Regions from separate parts of the Homo sapiens genome. Here all the other regions are linked to region 4. The links are contacts of gene promoters, found by promoter capture Hi-C in blood cells and fetal thymus (Javierre and others, 2016). All regions are on one chromosome and are shown on one strand. The core of a region is centred on a gene start or on the middle of the fragment in contact, and the rest is flanking DNA. Distances in the headings are between cores, read along the strand shown.

Region 1 (3,247 bases), core at 545-3,044, 540 kb before region 4:
CCGAGATACTGAGCCAGTTTCCACTGTTCTGGACTCGTGAATGAAGAGGCCACCCGGGATGTCCAGCTCAGTGGAGGCTTCTGATGACCCCAGCCCCAGCTGCCATCTGACTGCAACCACATGAGAAACCCCAAGCAAGAACCACCCTTCTGAGCCCAGTCAGCCACGGAATTGTGAGACAGGATAATGAATTGTTGTTTTCAGTTTTGGGGATGGTTCGTGATGCAGCAATAGATAACCAGAATAATATCTAAAGGAAACTGGGTCTCTCTCAGGAAGGAAGAAGCAGGAAATGGCTGCTGGGTAGGCTATCAATGGTGTGTCCCCTTTACCCTGTTGGGAGTGTGCACAGAACACCACGTTATCCTCAGAAGACATCTGATGAGCGTAGAGCCAAAGCAAGGCAAATGTCTGCAGGTGGGATCACTTTACATTGTCACAGTGGGATCCATTTTCCCCACCATATGAAGGAAACTAGTTATTGTCAGAAGAGACCATTGGGATGAAAAGTGTGTATCTTCGAAACCACTAAAGAAAAACTCACACTTTGGGAGGCCGAGGCGGGTGGATCATGAGGTCAGGAGATCAAGACCATCCTGGCTAACAAGGTGAAACCCTGTCTCTACTAAAAATACAAAAAATTAGCCGGGCGCGGTGGCGGGCGCCTGTAGTCCCAGCTACTCGGGAGGCTGAGGCAGGAGAATGGCGTGAACCCGGGAAGCGAAGCTTGCAGTGAGCCGAGATTGCACCACTGCAGTCCGCAGTCCGGCCTGGGCGACAGAGCGAGACTCCGTCTCAAAAAAAAAAAAAAGAAAAAAAGAAAGAAAAACTCAGTCTGTACCTTCTATAATAATAATTAGTAATGCCAGTAACAGCAGGTAACATTTATTGAATGTATACAGTGTGTGAGGCTAAATGCTTTACAATTGTTCTCTTCTCAGTTTTCACAACAGCATAGTCGTGTTGGTGCTATTGCTGGCTCTACTTCACAAAGACAATGTAGCCTGGGTTCTGGGTTCAAATTCTGATGCTAGCACTTATCACCTCTGATATCTTAGGCAAGTTGCTTAAACTCTGTGCCCCAGGATTAAATGAATTAATACTGACAACGGTGTCTTGCACACAGTAAGTGCTTTATAGGTATGGCCATTATTATTATTTCAGAGGAAGAAAGTGAGGCTCAGGGAGACAGGTAACTTGTCCAGGTGCACATGATGGGTAAGAGGTAGGCAGATTCCAACCCAGCCTGTGGACTCCATAGCCTGCAAGCTTACCAATCTGTGCCTTCCTTCTCCTGCCTCATAAAAAAGAGCCTGTGTGTTGACCTTGAACTTGTATCTCTCAGATCTCCTGCTGGGGGAAATACAATCACCTGACAGCCCTTGATGCTGTGCTCTAAATCCACCACCACATTCAAGCTGTGTCCACATTTCTTACCACTGCTCCCAACCAATGACGAAGCACAGCAGGGCTGCTAAGGCAGAATGACTCCTGTGACACGTGGGACTCCTCTGATGAACTTTGCCTCAAGGATGCTGCTATGGACCGAATGTTTGTGCCCCTGCCCCAAATTCATATCTTGAAGCCATAATCCCCAGTGTGATGGTATTTGGAAGTGGGACCTTTGGGAGGTGCTTAGGTCACAAGGGAAGAGCCCCCATGAATGGGATCAGCACCCATTCATGAGGTGAGGACCTTATAAAAGAGGCCCCAGAGAGCTGCCTTGCTCCTCCTACCATGTGAGGACACAGTGAGAAGTCTACTATCTGCAAACCAGGAAGAAGGTTCTCACCAGATACTGGATCTGCCAGCACCTTGACCTTGGACTTCCCAGGCTCCAGAACTGTGGAAAATACATTTCTGTTGTTTATAAGCCACCCAGTATATGGTATCTTATTATAGTAGACTGAACTGACTTAGACAGATGTCTATCAACCCTGCCCAAACTTTGTTAGAATGTGCGGCAGGCTGAGAGTCTTCCTACCTCACCTTCCTTCCCTCTCTCCTTCACCAGGGTCAGACCTGCATCATGGCCTGACAGCTCTCCCAGCCTCCTCCTGTAATCTCCCCATCTTCCTGCACAGACACTTCCTTCAATAAATCTCTCATGTCTAACCCTGCCCTAGAACGTACTTCTCTGAGAACCAGAGAGGTTTGGATGAAACCCAAGTAATAGAAGAAAGTGGGAATGAAAGGAGCTGCCACCAACACTGCTGTTGATGTTTTGGAGGTCCTGACCCTTGCCAAGTCCACTTGTCTTTCTCTCTAATCAAGTCATGTGCCTGGGTGGCTGTGTTTCTATCCCATGACTGAAGCTTTCCGGCCAAGAACTTTTTGGACCAGCCGTGGACACCTAACTGGGCCTAAATCCTCTCTTAAGGGAGAGTGAGGAGCCGGGCCTCTGGGTCTGGAGCAGTCAAGGGCTGAGTCAGCACCATGGCAAGACAAAGCCAAGGAGAACCAGGAATAGGCAGAGGACGCTGGGCAGAGAAAGAAACAGGTGAGCAGAAGGAAACGTCCAGAGAGGACCAGGGCCCAGAGAAGAGCCACCCTCTGCCTGACAACCTTGTTCCCAGCTCCATGTGGCTGAGGCCTGGCTAGCTAGACTCTTCATCAGTGCTCCTTTTTTTTTTTTTTTTTTTTTTTTTTTGAGGCAGAGTCTTGCTCTGTCGCCCAGGCTGGAATGCAATGGCACGATCTTGGCTCACCACAACCTCCGCCTTCCAGGGTCAAGTGATTCTCCTGCCTCGGCCTCCCGAGTAGCTGGGATTACAGGCATGTGCCACCACACCTGGCTAATTTTTATATTTTTAGTAGAGACAGGGTTTCACCATGTTGGCCAGGCTGGTCTCAAACTCCTGACCTCAAGTGATTCACCCGCCTCAGCCTCTCAAAATGCTGGGATTACAGCGTGAGCCACTCTGCCTGGCTGAGCTCTCCTTAGGGTTAGGTTACTCTGTCTCTGCTTGGAGCTAGTTTCTCTTCCCCATAAGCAGAAAGCCTTGACTGAAATGGAAATTTAGAATTTTAGAGCAGGAAGACCCCTTAGACATCATTTTATGGCAAAGACGCAAAAGCAGGACATTTCCACCCTCTCCTGCTGCCTTTACCAAGATCTGAGGACGGGAACTCCTGTGTGTCCTGGGAAGAGGCCCGAGAGCTGCTCCCCGAGTCCTAGGTGGGAGCGGGAGAAGGGCCCCTAGCAGGAGGAGGGCGGCCTTGCAGAGCCCTTCTCGGGTCCTGGTGG
Region 2 (3,289 bases), core at 198-2,697, 590 kb before region 4:
TTTCTATAACCCTTTCTCCAGCGGCTGCCACTCTAACCGCTCTACCTGGCGTACTCTGTAGACTGTGGCCTGCTGTGCTGTGTGAGTGGCCCCAGCTTCTCTCCACTGACCTAGCTCAGCCAGCCGAGCAGGTGGGCGGACAGTGCCCTCACAGCGCCGACTGAGGTCTAAACCGGATGACCCCTGAGATGAAGTCAAAGGCCTTGCTCACAACGCAACGGGGGGCTGAGACAGGGTTCATCTTACCTGTGCTGCTTTGAAAGAACCTTTTCCACTTTCCCTGTGAGCACACTCCAGATATACAGAGAGCCCTCAGCAGAGCCTGCCGCCACGTAACTGCCATCAGGGCTACAGAAGACAGTAAGAAAAGAAAGGTTGTCAATTCCCCACCCCCAATTCAGCATCTCTGTGGCCTTTTTCCCAAGAAGGAATGTTTGTTCTTCACTGATGACCACTCCTGTGTACCCAGACCTCAGAATGTGTGCTAGTCATGGCCCTTCCAGCCAAATCTGCTTTTCCCCAGTATTTCAGCCCCGTCCGGCTAATGAACAGTGGCATCACATTGCTTCTTGGGGCTCCAAGTCCTTAACCATCTACAGACTTCAACAAAACAACATATAGGGAGATCAAAGCCAACCTCCACATAGCTAAGGGTTTCAGCCCATGGACTGCCTTGTTACATGCCTCAAAGAGAGGAGGGAAGAAAAGAAACATCTTAGCAACTGAGCCTGGAAAGGTATTTGGAAGAAGCAGGATACATGGAAGAAGGGAACAAGGAGCAGAAAACTGCAGACCACCTGCACACCCTTCTCCAAAAAGCCTTTTCAGTCCCGCCCCAGGCCCACGGCCACTCCTGCCCTTTTCTAAAGGCTCTCCAACAGCTCTTGCGTGAATGAGTGATGAGAAGTGAACCTAATGGGCTCACCCACAACAAAGCAACCAGCCAACTGTTATTTTTTGGTACAACACGTTAGGTTCATGTAATCACAAAAGGAACACTGGAAAGGAAGAGACAATAATGGTGGCCTGCAATTATGAACTTACAGGCACACTCCTGGAAACATAGGTTGGGCACTGAACAAAATTTAGCTCTATATCCCCAGTGGGAAAATGCCCATGCAGGACTCTTTGTGATGAACCAAATTGGCGGGGGGTGGGTCACTACTAACCTGAAGACAACTCTGGTCCAGTCAGAGCCGCACTTGAACCCAGGTGCACTGAAACAAACAACAGGGCACTGTCACTGAGGGAGCTCAGGCCACGCAGCACGTTAAGAGAGCAGGGCTGGGCCTCTGGTCTTCATGCAACCAGCACATCTTCAGTTACCTGAATGTCTGCTTGATAGCATTTGTTCGGAGATCAATAACTTTTAGCAAGTCATCACGGGAGCAGCTCAGGAGCTCAGTCCTTTCTGGGTTTAAGTCCAGGGCAGTAATCTTTCCCAACAGCTCCATCTCTCGAACTATGCTCTCTGATCTAAGAGGGAGAACAGATCTGAGAAATGTAACGTAGGCCAGAACTACTTCACATCATGCCGTGGAGGAAAAAAAAGGCACTGCAATTCAACTAGCATGCAACGCTCTGCCAGCGCAGTCAATGTGTTCCCAGTCTTCTAATAACCTGTGACTGCTTTTCTTACTTTCCCATCAACAGACCCTAAGACAGTCATTCCCAGACTAGAACTCTGAAGTTGGTAAGAATTTCCTCATCCATTTTTGGAATGACAACAATCGCCCATCGGTTTCTGATCAGCATGAGCTAACTAGGGCTACTACCCAATTCGTATTATTTTCAGTGATGTGATTTCAACTTTTGGATAAAGTTGGCAAAGAAACCTGCATTAGTGGGCCTGGGCTGCCTTGTAAGTGTAACTCTAGCCTCTTGCAGGTTTTCTGCCCTATTCACTGTGGCTCTGTGGCCCTCCACCTCCAGATATGGGGCCAGGAAAGCCAGGGCAGAGCCACGGCCCTACGCACCTCCCTCTTCTTCTCTGTGCTGTGGCCCATGTCCAGGGTGGCTAACAGCCACCCTGGGCAGGGCCCTGTTGGTGACATTCATAGCCAAAGGGGGTGCTGACCTGTTCTGTGATGATTTTGTTGTAGGCTTTCAATGAAACCTTTTCCTACCTCCCACCTTAACTAAGCAAGAATTTATCTTATTGTTGCTAAATATGCAGCTTGAAGCAAGCTACTCCACTTCCTTGGGACTCAGGGTCTTCACCTGTCAAATTATGGGATGGACTAAGAGACTTCGAACATCCAACTTAACTCTCAAATTCCATCTTTCAAGTTCCAATTTCAGGTTTTAAAAGCAAACTAAAGATTATGAATAAAATGTGAAGTGGTGTCCAGGAACCATGAGCATTGTCAGGACTTTCTGGTGCCATGCTGTGTTTCAAAGCATCATCTATCACCACAGGCCCTGTACCCCCACCCTCTCTACAACCCTGCTGGGAGGCTGTCCTCATTTACTCTCCATCCTGTCTTCCCCTTCCTCCAACCTGTCAATAAGCCCTGTCCAAATTCTCCTTCAAATAGATTCTCTCCTCCACATGTTCCTCTACTGACTTGAACTTAGGTCCTTATCAACTCTATTGGTTTCCTATTCCCTAATATGCCCTCTCAAAATGCCACCAAAGTCGTCTACTAGACTCCTGCAAAGCAACCATTTCCTTGCTAAACACCCAACGACTTACAAGATCGAGTGATTTGACAATGGCTTATCAAGCCTGTGGCAACCTGATTTCAACCCCTCATAGCCCCCTCACTGGCTTCTGCCCTGTTTCCTGCTCACTTGCCATGTATCAGCCACCAGACACACACTCAAAAGTTTGAGTGGCTTTCCTGCCGTGTGAATCCTACTCACGTCTCCGGAGAAATCTGGAGAGGCATTCTTTAACACACTGGAACAAACGTAGCTGCCTCCACTTCAACACACTAGTCACTGACTTTTGCGTTCTGCCTTCCCTACTACAGTTTAAATTACCTAAAGGTAGAAAGAGTATCCTGTTTGCCTTTTCTTACCTGCCAGCTGGTGAAGGGCCTAGCACTCACTGCATGCTCAATAAATGATTGCTAAGCTCCACAGTCTACTTCATGGGAAAGAACAGCCAAGTGTTAATAAGCTAACACTATACGTGTACCGAAACTCATTTCTGCCATGTCCTGAGATCTTAAAAGCACAACCCATGTACAGAACCATTACTGTGGAGACTCTTATGTGCCTCCAGTCAGGAGCTTGGGTATCATACCGAATGTCCCAGAAACGAATTTTCTTGTCAAAATGTCCA
Region 3 (3,241 bases), core at 428-2,927, 660 kb before region 4:
TAATATTTTTACTTTATAAACTTTTAATTTAATTTTTTACTCTTTTGTAGTAACATTTAGCTTGAAACACACACTGTACACTTGTACAAAAGTATTTTCTTTATATCCTTATTCTATAACCTTTTTTCTATTTTTAATTTTTTTAATTATTTTACTTCTTAAATATTTTTGTTAAAAACTAAGAAACAAACACACACATTAGCCTAGACCTACACAGAGTCAGGATCATCAGTATCATTATCTTCCGCCTCCACATCCTATCCCACTGGAAGGTCTTCAGGGACAATGACGTGCATGGAGCTGTCACCTCCTATGATAACAATGCCTTCTTCTGGATACCTCCTGAAGGACCTGCTTGAGGCTGTTTTACAATTTGTTTTTCTTTTTTCTATAAGTAGGAAGAATATACTCTAAAATAATAAAAAGTATAGATAGTAAATACATAAACCAGTAACATAGTTGTTTATTATCATCATCAACTATTATGTACTGTATATACTTGTATGTGCTATACTTTTCTACCACTTGCAGTGCAGTAGGTCTGTTTACACCAGCATCACCACAAACACATAGGTAATTCATTGCCCTACAACATTATAACAGCTACCACGTCACTAGACAATTGGAATTTTTCAGCTTCATTATAATCTTATGGGACCACCTTTGTCCATGTGGATCATCATCCGGAAACATCATTATGCAGAGCACAAGGGTGTACCAGGAATTGATTAGATATGGTTCTTTCAGTTCATACGGCTATCGAATCTGTTCATGGTACCTGTTATTTGTTGTAGAAAATTCTCAGGTATTACTTTTCTTTCTTTTTTTTCTATTTAATACAGAGTTTCGCTCTTGTCGCCCAGGCTGTAGTGTAATGGTGTGGTCTCAGCTCACTGCAACTTCCACTTCCCAGGTTCAAGCGATGCTCCTGCCTCAGCCTCCCGAGTAGCTGGGATTACAGGCATCTGCCACCACACCCAGCTAATTTTTGTACTTTTAGTAGACACAGGGTTTCACCATGTTGGCCAAGCTGGTCTTGAACTCCTAACCTCAGGTGATCCGCCCACCTCAGCATCCAAAACTGCTGGGATTACAGTCGTGAGTCACTGCACCTGGCCACATTATCTTTTCAAATATTGTGTCTCCTCAATTTTCTCTCACTTCTCCTCTCTTGTGACAATTAAACACAAGTAAGACCTTCTTACTATATCTGTCTCCCACCCTCTCCAAATTTTTCCATTTTTTATGTCTCCAGGCTTCCTTGTGGGTATTTTCTTCTGAGCTATCTTCTGGTTCACACAATTTTTTCAGCCTGGGTCTAATCTGCTCTTTTTTTGGTTAGTTAATTTTGATCACTATGCTTTTTCAATTTTATAATTTTCTTTTATTGGCTGGGTGAGGTGGCTCACGCATGTAATCCCAGCACTTTGGGAGGCCGAGGCGGGCAGATCACCTGAGATTGGGAGTTCGAGACCAGCTTAGCTAACATGGTAAGACTCCGTCTCTATTAAAAATACCAAAAAATTAGCTGGGCGTGGTGATGGGCACCTGTAATCCTAGCTACTCGGGGGGCTGAGGCAGGAGAATTGCTTGAACCCAGGAGGCAAAGGTTGTAGTGAGCTGAGATCATGCCACTGCACTACAGCCTGGGTGACAAGAGTGAGACTCCGTCTTAAAAGAAAAAAAAAATGTCTAGTATCTTTAGTAGAGGCGGGATCTTGCCATGTTGGCCAGGCTGGTCTCAAACTCGTGACCTCCAATGATCCACCTGCCTCAGTCCAAAAGTGCTGAGATTATAGGCGTGAGCCATCTGGCCAGTGTGGACTAGAATTTTCATCTGGTTCTTTTCCATAGTTTCTAGTTCTCTGCCAAAACTCTCCATCTGATCTCGTGTCTCCTCCAACACAACGAGCACAGTTGTTATAAAGTCTGGGTCTGGAGTCTGGAAGCCCTGTGGGTCTGTCTACAGCCTGTAGTTTCGACTGGTTTTAGCTCAAGTGCCTCGCCTCCCTTGATGTCTATTTTTTTACTGTATGCACAATCATGAACGTACAAACAGACTCGTGAAAGTCATTAGAGGCCTCCATTGATAACTGGGAGGATTAGAGGGAGATATCTCCCTCTAGAGAGGATTAAAGTTTGCTTCTGTTGGGAATCTAGAGACACTAGTACACTGGGATTACTTTAATTTCAGAGGACTGAGGTGATTTGAAGCAGGGCTGCAGTCCTTCCAATACTTCTGGCTCCTGCGCATTCCTTGGAAGTGGCTTCTTTGGATCCCAATCCAAATTGTGAGGGGAGGGTGTCACCCAGGACTGTTGCCCTTTGGCAGAACCTGGCACCTCAGCCCTGCTAAGGCACTCAGACAGTCTCACAGGGCTCAGCCTCTTGGCTCCCATGTTTTGTTCAGGGCCCAGTGTTCTTTCCCCAGGGCTGCCCTAGGGCTGCCATAAAACTTCAAGGCTTAAAACAAAACTTGGAAAAAAAAAAAAAAAAAAAAAACTTGACTGTCTCACTGCTCTGGGGGCTGGAAGTCGGAGATCAAGGGATCAGAAGGCCGCACTCCCTCTAAAGGCTCTAGGGGAGATTCCATCTGTTATCTCTTCCAGCTTCTGGTGGCCCCAGGCATTCCTTGGTTTGCATCAACGAACTCTAATCTCCGGCTCTATTTTCCCATAACCTTTTTCCCAACATGTCTTTCTGTCCAAATCTCCCTCCCCTTCCTCTTATAAAGAAACCAACACTGGATTTAGAGTTTCTCCTAAGTTCACGATGATTTACTCTCAAAATCTTTAATTAGCCAGGCACAGTGGCTTGAGCCTACGCTCCCAGCTACTCAGAAGCCTGAAGCAGGAGGATCACTTGAGCCCAGGAGTTTGAGACCAGCCTGGGGAATATAGCAAGACCCTATCTCAAAATAAAAAATTTTGGCCAGGCACAGTAGCTCATGTCTGTAATTCTAGCACTTTGGGAAGCCAAAGGGGGAGGATCGCTTGAGCCCAGGAGTTTGAGACCCCAAGCATGGGCAACATAGTGAGACCCTCGTCTCCATAAAAATGTGTTTTTAAATTAGCCAGGCATCATGGAATGCATCTGGAGTCCCAGCTACTCAGGTGGCTGAGGCAGGAGGATTGCCTGAGCCCAGCCAGAGACTGCAGTATGCCACTGCACTCCAGCCTGGACGACCGAGCAAGACCCTGTCTCAGAAAAAAAGAAAAAAAATTTTTTTAAAGATATTTAA
Region 4 (3,094 bases), core at 159-2,658:
CCAGTTACGTGCCACTTTTAAATACTTTTCTAGTGTCCTCTTCTGTTGTCAACATCTGATGTAAAAGCCAAGTACATATTCCAGTTTGAGCACATCAGAAACTGCTACACCAACTAGTAAAACACGTAAAACCATCAATGAATAAGAGAAAGTATTTGTGTTCTAGGCAAAATGGACAAAATAAGGCCAAAGCTACAAATATTAGAAGGAGCAAAATTAATGTACAGAAAGAATGACAGAATTTTTTTTTCTAATCTAGGAAGTCATTTGATTCTAAAAAGGACATACTATATAAAGAAAGAATACCTTCCCCAGGCACAACATTGGGAATCAAAACTGCCTTAATTCAATGTATGTAGCTCTAGAAAGGAAGCTGTTCACAGCTTCTAGCCCCATACTCAATTTCTTGCAAGTTAAACTGGAATACTTACCTTTCTTACAGAGAGACTACGTGTGTTTAAGTGCTTTGACTTGCAGGAAAACGAAAACAACAAAATAAAAAACACAGTACTAAATAATTAACTGCAAAACAACGTTATTGCTTCCCAAACACGGTCATACGCTCCGCTTCTTTCATGCCCCCATTCCCTGTTCGCTTGATTTATGTTTCAGTCGCAAAACAAGTATTCAGAGTGCTTTTGGAAACTGACACTTAAGGATAATGCCCATTTCAACCTGATGTGAACATTTGGGTCCCCAAGGCTGCCATGGGCTCTAGTTTCCCAGCCTCGGTCCCAAGGTTCCGATCATGGTGGCTGCACCTCGCCTCAGGCCTGGTCCAGACCCAGTACTCTCGCCACGGAAGGAGTCTCCTCCGTCCAGATGCTCTGTGGGGAAGGCAGGAGCGCACCTCCCAGGGACCAGGTGTGGACAGGAGAGCCGGCAGGAGCAGCTGTCTGGCCGCAGCAGCTGTTACCGGGCCACCCCGAGACTGGGCGGGTGTCTGGCGCGGAGAAGCAAGCAGAGGAAGGCGAGCCCTCCAGCTCCGAGCAAGCCGGCCTGACACTGCCCACCCCACAACCCTCCTGCCTTGTTCGGCTCCCCTCGCAATGCCAAGAGGCCCTGGCCTAGGGGCTTCTCGGCTCCTCGCGGCCGTGACGCGCCAGGGCCCTCAGCGCCCCTCGCCCAGGAGGAGGCTCCCTCCGGCCCTGCACCTGACCTGTCCCGTCGCCTGACGGCCCAAGCCGGCCGGAGCGGCCTGTGGGTGTCCATGCGGCCGGGCCAGCTCGGGCAGGAGGAGCAGGGGCGCGAACGCGGACCGGAGACACAGGCGGCCCGGGACGCGGCGGCGGGGCCGGGGCGCGGAGCAGAGCCGGGCAGGGGAGCGACACGGAACGGCTGGTTACCTGCGGTCCGGGACAGGGAGTCTCAGAACCCCAGTCAGTCCTCAGCCTCAACAACACAAGATGGCCGACACGTCGCCACGCACGTCACGTGACCGCGCTCCCGCTCCGCCACGCCCCCTGCTCCGCCCCCGCCCCTTCCCGCTTCCCTCCCCACTCTCCAGTCTCCCACGACATCCTTCCTTTCCGCCACCACCCGCCCCTCTGCCCAGACACGCCCCTGCCCGAGACCCGGATGAAAGGTTGGAAGAGGGCGGGGCCGTGGCAGTGCGCAGGCTCCCGCTGACCCCTTGGCAGCAGCCGGGTACCTGCCCTTGAGTTGAGTGGTGTTGGTGTCCAGGGTTGGGCCCGGACCAGGCACCGTGTGACTCACTGTCCTGTACGCCCAGAGCTCTTTTGCAGTTCAAAAGCCTCTGCATCACTTGCGGGCTGGTTTTCCAAATTAGAACTTTTCCACAGCTTTTAGTCCGGCATTTTTCTTCGCAGTTGCCATCCTAGAGCGAATGGGAAAGCCGCAAAAGCTGAAATTCAAAGCAGTTTCTCTACTTGTTAACAGTTCTGGTAGAACTGGGAATTCATTTCAGAGTGTTGTACTGGGACAGCTGGAAAGGACTTGAGAGCTCTGATTCCTTCCTAGGACATCTGGGGCTATAACCCTTTTACCTAGAGATGAACTATTTTGGAATTGACAGATAAAATACAAGACACCCAGCAATATTTGGGGCACACACTGAAAAATTGTTCGTTGTTTTTCTGAAATTCAAATTTAATTGGGCGTCCTGTGTTTGCTAAATCTAGCAACTCTATCCTTAGGCATCCCATTCTTGCCTGTGTCTCCAACTTCTTCCTTCCTACAGGATCCTTCCTGTCAGCTTTAAAGATTACTTGTGTCTCCCATCTTAAAATGGAATGTTAAAAACTCCAATTCTCATGCCGGGCGCAGTGGCTCACACCTGTAATCTCAGCACTTTGGGAGGCGGAGGTGGGCGGATCACGAGGTCAGGAGATCGAGACCAGACCATCCTGGCTAACACGGTGAAATCCCGTCTCTACTAAAAATACAAAAAAAAATGTAGCCGGGCGTGGTGGCACGCACCTGCAGTCGCAGCTAGTCGGGAGGCTGAGGCAGGAGAATCGCTTGAACTGGGGAGGCAGACGTTGCAGTGAGCCGATATCGCGCCACTGCACTCCAGCCTGGCGACAGAGCAAGACTCCGTCTAAAACAAAAACAAAAACCTCCAATTCTCGGCCGGGCAGTGGCTCACGCCTGTAATCCCAGCACTTTGGGAGGCCGAGGCGGCGGATCACCTGAGGTTGGGAGTTTGAGACCAGCCTGACCAACATGGAGAAACCCCGTCTCTACTAAAAATACAAAATTAGCCGAGCGTGGTGGCGCATGCCTGTAATCCCAGCTACTTGGGTAGCTGAGGCAGGAGAATCGCTTGAACCCGGGATGCTGAGATTGCGGTGAGCCAAGATCGCGCCACTGCACGCCAGCCTGGGCAACAAGAGTGAAAATCCGTCTCGAAAAAAACAAATAAACAAACAAACAATCAAAAACACCAATTCTCCCTCCTGCGACCCTGTTCCCTTTCAAAGCCAAGCTGCACCAAAGAATTGTTTATATGCACTTTCTCCATTTCCACACCTGGCATGCAATCATCAACCACACCGATGTGGCTTCTGTCCTTTCCTATCTGCCTATTGCTTGCCCTAAGAACACCCCATCCTACAGGTTGATAACTGGAGTC
Region 5 (3,057 bases), core at 6-2,505, 870 kb before region 4:
CTGCCTGAGGACGCGGCGCTCTCCTGGAGTCGGGGCAGTGGTTTCGGGCCACGGGGACCTCTGCCTTTTTGCGCCCCTGGGCCTGTGGTGGCTTGGAGGGCCTCGGCCGGCCGTAGGAGTTGGGAATTCAGGAATGCAGACAACGAGCTCGAGGCTAGACTCTCGAGTTGTGTTTTTTTAGTTTTCTTCTGAGGAAAAGAAAAATAATTGCATTTCAGCGCTTCCTGTCATTTGGTACCTATGCTAGGCGCTTTACGTTTCTCATCTCCAAGTGACCCTCCGCCACACTCGATGTGAAACCTTGGGGAAGTCACCTAGGCCCCCAGGGCTAACGATGGGATTAGTGGATACATACTGGAAGGCCTTTAGGCTTGATAATTTTAGTGGCAGTCTTCCCCGCCCTCCGCTCCCCTTCCCCCCTCCCTCCCCAGTGAACTGACTTCCGGCCCAACAGCTTCGGGACTGTACTAAAGTGCTCTAAAAAAAGTTAACTTGATCTGTTTAATTTAAATGTCATAATCTGGTATATAGTACTGAAGGGTGTGACAAGCAGAGATTTTAGAGAGTTGATTCTCAGAATTTAGGGTTGGCTTTGCCGTCCCAGCAGTGGATTAGTTGTGGCAACAGGTTTTCTTTTTTAAAAAAATTAGTGATGTGAACGTGCCTTTTTAAAAACAGCTGTTACTTATTGTGGGCCAAACCCTGTACACTAACTGCCCTTCTTTCGTTATGTCATTGGATAGTTTAAATGACCCGAAGAGACAGATGGTATCCTATTTTACACATAAGAAAACAGATTAACATATCCAGGGTCACACAGGTAGTTAGGGTCCTGATAGGGATGAAAAAAATCTAGATCTTGCTGCCTCCAAAACCCAACTACTGTACATAGAAACAGTAGTCCTGTGTTCTAAGAAACAACAGAATCGACTCCCAAGTGTAAGGTAGGGGGATTTGGGGAAAATTTATTTTAAAAATAAAAGCATTTATATGTCACTTTTTTTAAGGGTAGTATTTAGTTTCACAATGTTTGGGGACCTGTTTGAAGAGGAGTATTCCACTGTGTCTAATAATCAGTATGGAAAAGGGAAGAAATTAAAGACTAAAGCTTTGGAGCCACCTGCTCCTAGAGAATTCACCAATTTAAGCGGAATCAGAAATCAGGGTGGAACCTGTTACCTCAATTCCCTTCTTCAGACTCTTCATTTCACACCTGAATTCAGAGGTATGCTATGTTACGTACATTTAACTAGCAATATGTACCATCTTCTTTACATGTAATTAATTATGCAAAATCACAAATAGACCAATTATCTTAAAGATATATTCTACAGTATGTGTTTATTGTTGCACATATAAGATATAAATTGGTAATTCCCTCTGCAGAGAAATGTGAAGCTTAATCTTAAATATATCCTGGGTGATGACAATAATGTTTAGTAAAAAAATAAAGCAATATATTTCTTTTTTAATTCCTGTAATTTAAAGTACAACGTAAAGACAATTGTCATAAGTATCAGTCTTCATTATTGTTACACTGTTTGAGTTTTAAGATTTCTCTAGAATAACAAACACTTAAGCCAGAGTTATCCAACCAATTATATCTACCTTTTGGAGTGGGGAAGGGTGTCATATTATTTATATGGGTGCACAGTTGTTCATACGCATTTCTGAAATCTGGAAAGCTCACACCCTCATCTGATCTCACCTGAGCTTGTTTGGCTTCAGAACCAGACCTGGTGTGAGGCTATTTACAGTTTTTAGTTATCTCATGTGGGTGAATGTTCATACATTCATTACAGGAATATTAATCTGCTTGATTAATGGAAGCTGGCCCAGACCCTGCTGGGAATGTAACATTTTATATATATATAAAAAACACTTTTTTCATATTATCTTTATAAACTCTGGAAATTCTGAATTCCAAAGACCCAGAGATTTTAGGTAAGGGATTGTGTGCAAGAAACAGACCCACCACCCAAATTAGCTAAATTTAAAAGGGGGGTTATTGTAAGAATATAGGGGATCTCAGAAATCAACTGCAGGAAGCCAGCCTGACCTTACTGGACCCTTGATTTCTTGCCCCTGTTTCTCTCTATATATTTCTCCCATACCCCATCTCTGCAAACCAGCTTCCTCCACAAGGGTCCTAGGAGCTGTGTTCCCGTGAGCTCAGTGTGAACATTACTTTGCCTTCACCTGGCCCTGACTGGGGTCCCCAGCACTACATGGCTTTGTAGCTCAGCTCTCCACAGTGTCTCCATATTAGGAGGACAGACAGCCTGACTCATCCTATCTGGTTTGCCATGTTCCTCTTCCCTACTGCCACCACATTTATCAAATCTTTGTGGTTCTTCTGTTGCTTCTAAGCTTAGAAAGACTTGCTGCCTCCAGAGATTTAGTAAATATTTACCGCTGTTACCTTCCTAGGAGCAATTTAATGGGTTGGATTGCATGTGGGATTTAAGTGGTACCTCTTAGCCTTGACTCGATCCCCTCCATAAAAATATCTCCCTGATGCAATCAGTAATTCCACCAGTAAAAATTGCCAGCACTAATAAGTACATTTCTAATAGGGATAACACTTTTCCAGGTTTTAATATAGTTGAAGTTAAAGGACAACTCGAAGTAGAAACGTAGCCTCAAAGGGACTGAGGAAGATGGTGAAGTGTAGGGCGGGTCATGGAGCGTACCATTAGGCAAGAGTAGTACTGAGAGTCCCAGGCCAACTTCCTCTCCAGCAGAGGGGATTGCTGGCCAAGCATATGATTTGACATCTTAGTGCACAATGTGCACTGCTTGTATAGCTTAGCCTGAATCCTGATGGTGACTGACAGGGAGGTATAATTTGGAAAGAATAAGGACTGTCAGAGAACTGGCGGGGGAAATTTTGGAATAGTATTTTAAATAATAGGGCTACATTGGGTTCCATTGTACTCCATTACAATGTAGCTGAGAGTACTGGGAGATTATTATAAAAGTTTTTGTATGGTTTTATGCTTTAACTTGTAGATTTGTAGTTCATTTTTGCCGAGTCCCAGCACTTAGAAAGAATAT
Region 6 (2,903 bases), core at 268-2,767, 560 kb before region 4:
ACAAAGAAGTCAGGAGGGCAGGCTTATTATGGATAATGTTTGTGGAAATGGAAAGACTGAACAAGGGGTAACCTGATGAAGCCCACCGTTCAACCTGCCTTGCCTGCTTTTCATCACTTTTTTCTAGTTCCAAACTCCCACTAGCAAGTCGAGTTGCCAAACAACACATAACTAAACTCCCAATAGCTTCCTTATAAATAATAACTGACTGTGGCTCACTACAATAACTGGTGCTTAAAGTTTTTCTCCAGGAACTAGGAGGCAGCTCTTGCTCATTAAAGCTGGTTGAGACCCCCAACCCTTCAACTGGGCCTGTGTGAATGCCCAAGAGGTGATCTTTTGACATCAGAGGGCCAAAACACTCCTCCCTCAGATGGTGCTGACGCCACCATTTTCTGCATGTGTCCTATGAGGAACCACAAAGCTAGATTATGCTTGCGTGGAAGCCCCAATTACCTCATCTTTCCTACCCACCAATCACCTCTTCCCACACTTTAGACCACCCTGCTTTCTACTGCCTAAGTACCCCCAATCCCTGTTTTCAAGGAGGTGGATTTGAGACCTGTTCTCCTGCCTCCTTGCTTGGCCACGTTATGAATAAACTCTCACAAAACCCATCATCTCAGTGATTAACTTGCTGTGTGTGGGCTGAATGAACCTGGTTTATAACAAGACCTCCAACTAAATGACCATCCCCCTGGGTGTGGTGGCTCATGCCTGTAAACCCAACACTAATGGAAGGTTGAGGAGGGAGGATCACTTAAGCCCAGGAGTAAAGACCAGCCTGGGTAACACAGTGAGACCCCTATCTCTACAAAAAATTAAAAAATTAGACTGGCATGGTGGTGCACACCTATAGTCTCCCAGCTACTCAGAAGGCTAAGGCAGGAGGATTGCTTGAGCCCTGGAAGTTGAGGCCGCAGTAAGCCATGATCATGCCACTGCACTCCAGCCTGGGCAACAGAGAGAGACCCTGCCTCAAAAAAGTCTATCCCAGTGAAATTTAGCCAAAAGAACGGCTGCATATTCCAAGCACATGAGTTTGGCTAACAGATAAAGAATACAAGAATATAGTCATCAAGGGTTTAATCAGATAGAAATGTTTTTAGTTTTCAATTGGATGAATTTAGACGAAAATGGTGAAACAGCATTATCTACACCTAAAATTAACCAAAATACTAAAACTAATATCTTAAGTACTACAGAAGGCCTCCCAGGGCCACAGCCAGGCAGGATCTCCTGAACTGTTACAAAGCAAGGATGGAAGCTAGGCCCTGCCAAGCCATCTGTTCTCTGGTATCTTTCCCACTCTGTCCTCTATCAGGAGACCATCGTGCCAGATGAGGAGACATGAGAGCAGCTACAGCTCTAGGAGTAAATACATCAGGCTACAGCTACCATTTCTAGACACCATAAATCACCAACCTTGTTTTTACAATTGCTAAATGTGTGGAGATTTCAGAGCAATAATGGCTACTGTCCCCATACCAAATTTAACATGCAAACACAATGAATATTACAGAAGAGGATAATAAGACTTCAAATATACATAAATGCACACCAGTGACCCAGTAAACACAAATACCCCGCCATGAACAAATATGTATTTCATGAAATATTCTATCAATACACACCAAGAGATAGATATAGATATATAGATATATAGATATATAGATATTTTTTTTTTTTTTTTGAGACGGAGTCTCGCTCTGTCACCCAGGCTGGAGTGCAGTGGTGTAATCTTGGCTCACTGCAACTTCCGCCTCCCAGGTTCAAGCAATTCTGTCTCAACCTCCCGGGTAGCTGGGATTACAGGCGCCCGCCACCATGCCCGGCTAATTTTTGTATTTTTAGTAGAGATGGGGTTTCACCATCAGGGCCAGGCTGGTCTTGAACTCCTGACCCTGTGATCCACCCGCCTTGGCCTCCCAAAGTGCTGGGATTACAGGTGTGAGCCACCAAGCCCAGCACACACTGATATTTTTCTAATCTAGTTCTTAAAGAAAAATAAGAGCTTACTGCAATCTGCTAATTTGATTTCACAATCTACTAATACTGATGTTCCTCTACTTACTGAGGCTATGTCTCTTTAAACCCATCAGAAGTTGAAAATATATAGTAGGTTGAAAATACATTCAATACATCTCACCTACTGAGTATCATAGGTTACACTTACATTAGCCTACAGTTGGGCAAAATCATCTAACACAAAGCCTATTTTATAATAAGTTGTTGAATATCTCATGCAATTTATTGAATACTAAACTGAAGGGGAAAAACAGACTGGTTGGATGGATACTCAAAGCACAGTCCTACTGAAAGTGTATCGCTTCTGCACCATTATAAAGGTTAAAAATTGTAAGCTGGGCTGGGCGCGGTGGCTCAAGCCTGTAATCCCACCTCTCTGGGAGGCCGAGGCGGGCGGATCACGAGGTCAGGATATCAAGACCATCCTGGCTAACACGGTGAAACCCCGTCTCTACCAGAAATACAAAAAATTAGCCAAGCGTGGTGGCGGGTGCCTGTGGTCCCAGCTACTCGGGAGGCTGAGGCAGGAGAATGGCTTGAACCCAGGAGGCGGAGCTTGCACTGAGCCCAGAACGCGCCACTGCACTCTAGCCTGGGCGACAGAGCGAGACCCCATCTCAAAACAAAACAAAACAAAACAAAACAAAACAAAAAAAATTGTAAGCTGGCCAGTGCGGTGGCTCACGCCTGTAATCCCAACACTTTCGGAAGCTGAGGTAGGTGGATCATTTGAGGTCAAGAGTTCGAGACCAGCCTGGCCAACATGGTGAAACCCTGCCTCTACTAAAAATACAAAAACTAGCCAGGTGTGGTGGTGGGTTCCTGTAGACCCAGCTATTTGGGAGGCTGAGGCAGGAGAATTGCTTGAACCCAGG

The links. The method cuts DNA at HindIII sites, captures the fragments that hold promoters and counts their contacts. A CHiCAGO score of 5 or more calls a contact.
Region 1: a fragment that was not itself captured here is called in contact with the fragment with the promoter of GIGYF2 in region 4 in 1 of 17 cell types (naive CD8 T cells); the score reaches 5.3 in naive CD8 T cells.
Region 2: a fragment that was not itself captured here is called in contact with the fragment with the promoter of GIGYF2 in region 4 in 1 of 17 cell types (neutrophils); the score reaches 6.4 in neutrophils.
Region 3: a fragment that was not itself captured here is called in contact with the fragment with the promoter of GIGYF2 in region 4 in 1 of 17 cell types (neutrophils); the score reaches 8.5 in neutrophils.
Region 5: a contact is called between a fragment that was not itself captured here and the fragment with the promoter of GIGYF2 in region 4, in 1 of 17 cell types (fetal thymus). The highest score is 5.1, in fetal thymus.
Region 6: a contact is called between a fragment that was not itself captured here and the fragment with the promoter of GIGYF2 in region 4, in 2 of 17 cell types (neutrophils and fetal thymus). The highest score is 5.8, in neutrophils.

The regions. Positions count from the first base shown.
Region 1 is chr2:233,236,205-233,239,451 of GRCh38, reverse strand. No RefSeq gene overlaps it. Among named protein-coding and RNA genes, the nearest start is that of ATG16L1, 14 kb to the left of the region's middle. The HindIII fragment of the contact is 1,046 bases long and covers 1,272-2,317 here.
Region 2 is chr2:233,290,315-233,293,603 of GRCh38, reverse strand. It overlaps ATG16L1 (autophagy related 16 like 1), which reads right to left. Exons shown (of 18, transcript NM_030803.7): 14 at 3,251-3,289; 15 at 1,327-1,476; 16 at 1,170-1,217; 17 at 247-348. Among named protein-coding and RNA genes, the nearest start is that of SAG, 16 kb to the left of the region's middle. The HindIII fragment of the contact is 4,043 bases long and covers 1-3,289 here.
Region 3 is chr2:233,360,246-233,363,486 of GRCh38, reverse strand. The region is part of intron 1 of DGKD (diacylglycerol kinase delta); the gene reads right to left. Among named protein-coding and RNA genes, the nearest start is that of DGKD, 7.4 kb to the right of the region's middle. The HindIII fragment of the contact is 7,993 bases long and covers 1-3,241 here.
Region 4 is chr2:232,695,645-232,698,738 of GRCh38, reverse strand. It overlaps GIGYF2 (GRB10 interacting GYF protein 2), which reads right to left and starts at 1,408. Exons shown (of 29, transcript NM_001103146.3): 1 at 1,347-1,408. RefSeq lists enhancers at 210-904, 905-1,601 and silencers at 1,106-1,435, 1,466-1,555. The HindIII fragment of the contact is 8,556 bases long and covers 1-3,094 here.
Region 5 is chr2:233,563,524-233,566,580 of GRCh38, reverse strand. It overlaps USP40 (ubiquitin specific peptidase 40), which reads left to right. Exons shown (of 32, transcript NM_001365479.2): 2 at 1,008-1,225. The coding sequence starts at 1,027. Among named protein-coding and RNA genes, the nearest start is that of USP40, 1.7 kb to the left of the region's middle. The HindIII fragment of the contact is 290 bases long and covers 1,111-1,400 here.
Region 6 is chr2:233,256,792-233,259,694 of GRCh38, reverse strand. All of the region lies in intron 2 of ATG16L1 (autophagy related 16 like 1), which reads right to left. Among named protein-coding and RNA genes, the nearest start is that of ATG16L1, 6.6 kb to the right of the region's middle. The HindIII fragment of the contact is 7,071 bases long and covers 1-2,903 here.